Linked DNA regions of Homo sapiens: regions 1 and 3 are each linked to region 2. Evidence: promoter capture Hi-C in 16 types of primary human blood cells and fetal thymus (Javierre and others, 2016). All regions are on one chromosome and are shown on one strand. Each heading gives the region's core, a stretch centred on a gene start or on the middle of the fragment in contact. The rest is flanking DNA. Distances are from core to core; before and after follow the strand shown. Region 1 overlaps SLC2A1 (solute carrier family 2 member 1). Region 2 holds the start of CDC20 (cell division cycle 20). Region 3 has its middle 46 kb from the start of SLC2A1.

What was found. The method cuts DNA at HindIII sites, captures the fragments that hold promoters and counts their contacts. A CHiCAGO score of 5 or more calls a contact.
Region 1: a contact is called between a fragment that was not itself captured here and the fragment with the promoter of CDC20 in region 2, in 1 of 17 cell types (neutrophils). The highest score is 6.7, in neutrophils.
Region 3: a contact is called between a fragment that was not itself captured here and the fragment with the promoter of CDC20 in region 2, in 1 of 17 cell types (total B cells). The highest score is 5.3, in total B cells.

Annotation. Positions count from the first base shown.
Region 1 is chr1:42,930,051-42,932,550 of GRCh38, forward strand. SLC2A1 (solute carrier family 2 member 1) reads right to left here. Exons shown (of 10, transcript NM_006516.4): 3 at 996-1,156; 4 at 576-816. Among named protein-coding and RNA genes, the nearest start is that of SLC2A1, 28 kb to the right of the region's middle. RefSeq lists an enhancer at 2,089-2,258. The HindIII fragment of the contact is 5,614 bases long and covers 1-2,500 here.
Region 2 is chr1:43,357,542-43,360,241 of GRCh38, forward strand. CDC20 (cell division cycle 20) reads left to right here and starts at 1,440. Exons shown (of 11, transcript NM_001255.3): 1 at 1,440-1,465; 2 at 1,626-1,855; 3 at 1,949-2,097; 4 at 2,184-2,280; 5 at 2,428-2,556; 6 at 2,652-2,700. The coding sequence starts at 1,675. It overlaps CDC20-DT (CDC20 divergent transcript), which reads right to left and starts at 1,132. Exons shown (of 4, transcript NR_183650.1): 1 at 1,009-1,132; 2 at 501-567; 3 at 262-359. RefSeq lists enhancers at 209-717, 829-888, 1,228-1,736 and silencers at 1,179-1,288, 1,479-1,628. The HindIII fragment of the contact is 10,275 bases long and covers 910-2,700 here.
Region 3 is chr1:42,911,632-42,914,331 of GRCh38, forward strand. No RefSeq gene overlaps it. Among named protein-coding and RNA genes, the nearest start is that of SLC2A1, 46 kb to the right of the region's middle. The HindIII fragment of the contact is 160 bases long and covers 1,347-1,506 here.

The sequences.
Region 1 (2,500 bases), core at 1-2,500, 430 kb before region 2:
GCCGTGAGCGCCTCTGCCCTGACCCCCTTTCCCACCCCGTCCTGCCAGAGTGGCCTTCCCTACTTTGTGTCAGCTGCTGCTTCAGGGAAGGGCCCCAGTTCTAGAGGCTCTGCCACTAGCATGAGCCCTGTTTCTCAGTTTCCTCATCGGTCACATGGGAAAAGTAGGACCTACCCCACAGTGTTGCTGGGAGGACAAATGACAAGGCCACAGATGTGTCCAGCACAGAGAATGGGGGCTGCTACTCTGCCACAAGAGGGTTTTGGGGACAGGGAAGGGGAAGCCTCCTGGAGAGAGGGTACTGTGCATAACAGCCTGCGGCATGTTGGGGGAAGGCGGGCCCTGTGGTTGGAAGCCTAGAGTGAGAAGAAAGGGACTGAGAAGAGTCAAGTCATCTTGCTGTCAACTGGGAGGCCATGGTGCTGTGTTCTCTGGACCTGTGTACCATAGTTGTCCTCTGCAAGGCTGTGGGGGCTGGGCGGAAGAGAAACTCTGCCCTGCTGGGCACAGATCCGAGAGCCACTGAAGCTGTGGGCAGGGGCCGTGCCAGGCAGGTAGATCCTGCCCCAGCTTACCTGGGCGATGAGGATGCCGACGACGATGCCCAGCTGGTGCAGGGTGCCCAGGGCCCCACGAAGGGCTGTGGGTGACACTTCACCCACATACATGGGCACGAAGCCTGTGGTCAGGCCGCAGTACACACCGATGATGAAGCGGCCCAGGATCAGCATCTCAAAGGACTTGCCCAGTTTCGAGAAGCCCATGAGCACGGCGGACACGAAGGCCAGCAGGTTCATCATCAGCATTGAATTCCGCCTGGGGACGGGGTCACAGGTCAGGCCAGTGCCCACATTCCTTGGGCTCCGAGGGGCTGGGTCAGAGGTAATACCCTGGAACAGGCAGATAAGTCTCCCCTACCTCCCACCCCATCTGGGACTCCCTGGGCAGGAGGGCATGGGCCCTCCAAGGGCAGTGCCAGGACCTCTCCTACTTACCGGCCAAAGCGGTTAACGAAAAGGCCCACAGAGAAGGAGCCAATCATGCCCCCAACAGAAAAGATGGCCACTGAGAGGGACCAGAGCGTGGTGAGCGTGGTGGGCAGGATGCTCTCCCCATAGCGGTGGACCCATGTCTGGTTGTAGAACTCCTCGATCACCTGCAGGGGGAGATGCAGCCTGGGTGAGCAAGCCAGGGGCCAGGACCCAGTCTTCCTTTTCCTTTCCCCTTGCACCCCTCCCTAAGAGAGGGCCAGGGCCTGGCTCTGCCACAGATTCACTGCATGTTCTTGAGCCAAGTCCCTCTATTTTTGTGGGCCTCACTTTCCCCAGGCGAGAAACAAGGGGTTGGAGTTCATCTGAGAGCCCCGCCAACTCTCCCACTTCCCCTAACGTGTGGTTTCCAGTGCCCTGTGGTTTCACAGGCTCAGTGTGACTTGCTGGGATGATGGCAAGTGATCAGTGGTGGAAGTTCAGGCATAGAACAGAGAGGTACAAGACCAGGTGTGGTGGCTCACGCCTGTAATCCCAGCACTTTGGGAGATCAAGGCAAGCAGATCACTGGAGATCAGGAGTTCGAGACCAGCCAGACCAACATGGTGAAACCCTATCTCTACTAAAAATAAAAAAAAAATTAGCTGGACGTGGTGGCGCAAGCATGTAATCCCAGCTACACGGGAGGCTAAGGCAGAATTGCTTAAACCCAGGACACGGAGTTTGCAGTGAGCCAAGACTGTGCCACTGCACTTCAGCCTGAGTGACAGAGTGAGACTCTATGTCTCAAAAAAAAAAAAAAAAAAAGAGAAATACAGAAGGAAAAGGGTCTTCCCACTTGCCCCTTTTCTCCTCACCATGTCTCAAAGCCCCAGGGGCCCATCTCCTGCCATCAGGCCCTCCCCCCAACCCCTTGCTGGGGAGGAAGCAGGGCTTGACAGACAGGTTCCGCCATCCAGGAAGTACAGACTCCCTGACCGCACTGAGGGCCTGGTGTGACAAACTCACACATGTCACCCTTCAGAAGTGCTTGAAAGACTCACGCTGTGGCTTTCTGTTCCCCAGGCCTAGCTCCCTTGTGTCTGGCCTGCGAGCACCCCCTTGAAGGACCCACGGCCTCCTCCCCTCTCCCAAGGGCCCAGCTAGGAGGTATGGGGAAAGGTTCCACACAAGGAAGCAGTTCCAGGAACTGGAAACGCCCGTCCTAGGGCAGCCCTGCCCACCAGCCCTGCCCCCACCCTGGCCAGCTCCCACGGATGTGGTAGGCAGGCAGCACCCGTTCTGCCTGAGCACACTCACCACACTCTCAGTGCCATGGGACTGGCCAGACCCACCCAGCCACACGTATAGCAGAGTGCAGGCCCTAGTTACCCAGAAACGGCTTCTTATGCACGTATACCATCACACACACATACCCGTGCTCATAGAATCTAAATATTCCTGCTTTAGCCAGTCACAAACTCACATGCCCCTCATCCCCTACCACTTACAGCTCAAACTCAATTCCATGT
Region 2 (2,700 bases), core at 190-2,689:
AGGGAAGATGGGGTATCTATCTGCCTTATGGGATTAAGGATTGAACTCGATAATGTATGTAAACTTTTTTTTTTTTTTTCAGACAGAGTATCGCTCTGTTGCCCAGGCTGGAGTGCAGTGGCTCGATCTCGGCTCACTGCAAGCTCCGCCTCCCGGGTTCACGCCATTCTCCTGCCTCAGCCTCTCGAGTAGCTGGAACTACAGGCGCCCGCCACCAAGCCCGGCTAATTTTTTGTATTTTTAGTAAAGACGGGGTTTCACCGTGTTAGCCAGGATGGTCTCGATCTTCTGACTTCGTGATCTGCCCGCCTCGGCCTCCCAAAGTGCTGGGATTACAAGCGTGAGCCACCGCGCATGGCCTGTAAATTGTTTTAACACAGTAGTTAGATGGTCCATAAATGGTACCATTATTACTTTTATGATTGCTGCTCCACCTCTGAGCACATTCATACAATTCACTCAAGTCATTATTAGAGCACTAGATTGAGTGCGAGTCAGACCTGGATTCCCACAAACTTCTTTGTATGACCTCGGGCACATCCCTTCCCTGGGCCTCCGTTTCTCCATCTGTAAAATATGGATTTGTTGTCGGGGTGGGGAGGCTGCACCACGCACAGGTTAGACTAATGGATCTCTAAGGTCCTCACATCTTTAAAGCCCCAAGGGGATAAGCCACAGTGCCTCCTGTAGGGCAGTCTAAGCTTATCTTCCAGATAGGCAGGTTTGAATACCGATCCTTTTTCTTGACCTTAAGGAATTCATTCACCCTTTTCAACCTCATTTTCCCTGTTTGTAAAACAACAGCAAACGAGACAAACACACGTTACTTCCTTTCTAGCAGGGTTCCTACCCGGCGCCAAGCAAAAGTGGAATGTACCCTAAGTAGCTCTGGCCTTCTTCCTGCTCCCAAGCTTCCCAATTCCGTCCCCTGCCCCGCTGCCGCCCGCGGCTCTCCTTCCCCTTCTAGGAACGGCTCAAGCGCCTTGGGCACTCCATCGGGTTCTGCACCGAGTTCTGCATCATAAATACGACTCTCGTGTAGGATTTAAGTGTGAACTTCTGCAGGTTCTCGGACCCTGAAGCACCCGGGGCCAGACATTCCGAGCTCGCGGCGGTGGAAGGCACGCAAAAGGGCGAACCGAGACGACTCCAGGACGCTGAGGCAGCGCAGGCCCCACCCGGCCCCGCCCTGCCCCGCCCTGTCCCGGCCGGCTTTCCAGTACTAGTCCTCTGGCGCCGGCTCCCAGCCCCTCTCGTACCCTTCAAATCGCGCTCCGCCGCTAGACTCTCGTGATAGCTGAGACTTTCCCCGGAAGGCCCGCCCCCTTCGCCGGAGAGGCCAATGGGCTAGGGCAACGGTTGCGACGGTTGGATTTTGAAGGAGCCAATAGGCGCTCGGAGCGGAGAGTTTAAGAGGCGTAAGCCAGGCGTGTTAAAGCCGGTCGGAACTGCTCCGGAGGGCACGGTGAGAGGTGGTGGGGCTGAGCCGAGGTGGGGCCGTGGCCAGGGGGAGGGGGTGCTAGGCCGGAAGGGGCTGCAGCCGAGGGTGGCCCTGATTTTGTGGCCGGCCAGGAGCGAAGGGGTCCCTTTCTGTCCCCTGAGCACCGTCGCCTCCTTTCCTCCAGGGCTCCGTAGGCACCAACTGCAAGGACCCCTCCCCCTGCGGGCGCTCCCATGGCACAGTTCGCGTTCGAGAGTGACCTGCACTCGCTGCTTCAGCTGGATGCACCCATCCCCAATGCACCCCCTGCGCGCTGGCAGCGCAAAGCCAAGGAAGCCGCAGGCCCGGCCCCCTCACCCATGCGGGCCGCCAACCGATCCCACAGCGCCGGCAGGACTCCGGGCCGAACTCCTGGTCAGTGAGGTGCCAAAGGAACTGAGTGAGAGCAGCCTTCATACTTTCTCCCTGGGGAGCCTGGTCAGACTGTCTTCTCTTTCTCCGCCCCAGGCAAATCCAGTTCCAAGGTTCAGACCACTCCTAGCAAACCTGGCGGTGACCGCTATATCCCCCATCGCAGTGCTGCCCAGATGGAGGTGGCCAGCTTCCTCCTGAGCAAGGAGAACCAGCCTGAAAACAGCCAGACGCCCACCAAGAAGGTATGTGTCCCAGAGGGGCTTAAGGCACGGGACCTGACTGTTCTTTGGATAATACCATCTTGCTCCTTCACTACCCTTTATGCCAGGAACATCAGAAAGCCTGGGCTTTGAACCTGAACGGTTTTGATGTAGAGGAAGCCAAGATCCTTCGGCTCAGTGGAAAACCACAAAATGCGCCAGAGGGTAAGACCCGAAGTTCCTGGTTCCTGGAGGGAGGTGTCAGTTCATCTCCAGGGCTGAGCACAGATATCTGTCTCCTCTTCCTATCTAAGATTGAGGGCAAGGGAGGTGTTGATTTTCCCAGCGTCTAGACTCACTCCGTTGCCACAGGTTATCAGAACAGACTGAAAGTACTCTACAGCCAAAAGGCCACTCCTGGCTCCAGCCGGAAGACCTGCCGTTACATTCCTTCCCTGCCAGACCGTATCCTGGATGCGCCTGAAATCCGAAATGACTATTGTAAGTGCATCCTTATCCTCGCCTCATGCATGGAGAAAGAGGGCCTGGGACCACACAAACAAGGAAGCTCATGCTCTTCTCTCCACCTCTGACAGACCTGAACCTTGTGGATTGGAGTTCTGGGAATGTACTGGCCGTGGCACT
Region 3 (2,700 bases), core at 177-2,676, 450 kb before region 2:
CCCTCAGGGCACATGTAGAAGCTCTTAGATCATTTATTTGAAGCTCAAGCTGGTAATTTGAATCTCTGAGCTCATCCTCCTCTTTCACCATTTTGTTCAGTGACATTAGGAGCAACCAACCAATGGCATTATATTCCTTGGTTTTCCAAAAACGTTTGAAAGTATCATATACAGAGTTACTTAGGTTTTTACTTCTTATATTTGGTAAACTAGGAGCATCTAATGCATATCTTTATAAATAGTTCATGCAATAGACTACTATAGAGTCCTTAGCATCTTGAAATCTAAGATGATTGAAGAGCCAATTCCATAAGCCCCAAAACCAATTCAGCAAACTCATCCTTAAAATTCTGTTGCTCTAGAACCACTCTCAGTATCGAAATCTGCATTAGTCAGGGTTCTCGAAAAAACCAGAACCAATAAGATATTTATACAGATATTAAGGGCAGATATATTATAAGAATTGGTTCAAGTGATTGTAGAGGCCAAGAAGTCCGTCCCATGATATACTGCCTGCACACTGGAGAAACAGGAAATATGGTAGTGAAATTCAGTGTGAATTTGAAAGCCTGAGAAACAGGGGAGCCAATGATATAACTCCCAATCCAAGGCTGGGGGCCTGAGACCCAGGTGGCTGCTGCTCTGACTCCTGAAGTCTGAAGGCCTAAGAATCAGGAGCTCCAATGTCCAAAGGAAGGAAATGGATGTCCCAGCTAAAGAGAGAGAGAGAGAATTCCCCCCTCCTCTACCTTTTTATTCCATTCAGATGGGCCCTCAATGAGTTGGATAAGACCTGCTAACACTAGGGTGGGTGAATCATTTTTACTCAGTACGCTGACCCAAATGCTAATCTCTGGGAATACTCTAAAAACATACCCAGAAATAATGTTTTACTAGCCATTTGGGTCTTCCTTAACCCAGTCAAGTTGACACATAAAATTAACCATTATACCATTCAAAGCCTGCCAGACACATCCTCTGACCCAGGTGCCCAGCTTGGGGGTGGAAGAGATCCAGTATAGGAAGTAGGTATTTTGAGAGCACATTCAAGGCAGACTTAGGAAACAAAATCCCAAAGGCAGCCAAAAGAATACTAATTTGAATCCTCCAAAAAGGTTATCTTCAAACTGGGTATTCATACCTGTGGATGTCCAAAAAAATTTCCAAGGAATATGTGAACATATTTAGCTTTAAGGGAATCGATGTCCAAATCCCGATCTTTACTTTCTGCATGTACTCTTTTCAAAAACTAATCTTCCTGAGAGGAGTAACATCAGTAATACAGCATAATAGGACATCTCAGACCTTGTTCCTCCATAGACACTGACTTAATATATGGTCCAAAAAGCTTTTATGAGAATTCTAGAAACTAGTGCCTGAGGCAAGTTCAAAGTCAAGAACAGCTATATTAAAATGGGTAAGAAGAAACATTTTCATTTAACCTACAATAGCCCTTTCCCAAAGCCAGTACAGCTTGGTGCTTTCAGGAGTAAATGCCCAACTTGAAGCTTCTACCTTGAGAGTGAAACAGAAGAGTAGAATGTGCGTCCAACATTCAGGCTTTTCAGGGGGCTCCCTGAGGGACCGGTTTCTGTCTTGCCTGACACTGAGTGCTGATAAAGTTAAAAAAAAAATTATATATATATATATATATACACACACGTATATATATACATATATGTGTATATGTATATGTGTATATATACACATATATACACATATATACATATATACACATATATATACATATATACACATATATATACACATATATACACATACACACACACACACACACACACACATATATATATATACATACATACATACACATCCCCTGGGGACTGCTGAGAACAAGAGACATCAACAGCTTGTTGTAGACCCTGAGAACTTGCAGTACTGTAGACAGACACCAGAGAGAGCAAGAGACCACAAGCTTCTGAAAAGACACCAGCAAACCTCTCGAATTGGGAAATCACAGGCACAAGCCCAAGAATACGTATCTCCAGAAAAGGTTTGAGAGACCACTCCCCCAAACTGTTAGTTGAGCTGAATGTTTAAGGTTTTCCCCTTTATGAAGCCAATCCATTAAAACTGGAAGACATGGTCATTTTTTCAAATCCACAAACTCTTGCAAAAAATAACAAGACATATGATGATAGTGGGAAACATGGTCCAGAGGACCAACTATGTATCAGAAATGGAACCCTAAAGAAACAGAGATCTATGAATTACCTGACAACGAATTCAAAATAATCATCTTAAAGAGGCTCAGTGGGCTACAAGAGAATCAGATACACAAATGAAACCAGGAAGTGACCCATAAAAACCAGAATACCAACAAAGACGCAGAGGCCGGGTGCAGTGGCTCAGGCCTGAAATTCCAGCACTCTGGGAGGCTGAGGCAGGAGGATTACATGAGCCCAGGTGTTTGAGACCAGCCTGGGCAATAGAGTGAGACCCTGTCTCTAAAAAGAAAAAAAAGAATCTGTTAAGAAAAAGACCAAATGGAAATTCTGGAGTTGAAAAAAACAATAACTGAATTGAACAATTCACTAGAAGGGATCATAACAGATCTAATTGAGCAGAAGAAACAATCAGGAAATTTGAGACAGGTTATTTGAAATTACTGAGTCAGGGGAAACAAAAGAAAAGATGAAGAAAAGTTAAGAAAGCCTAAGGGACTTATGGGATACAATA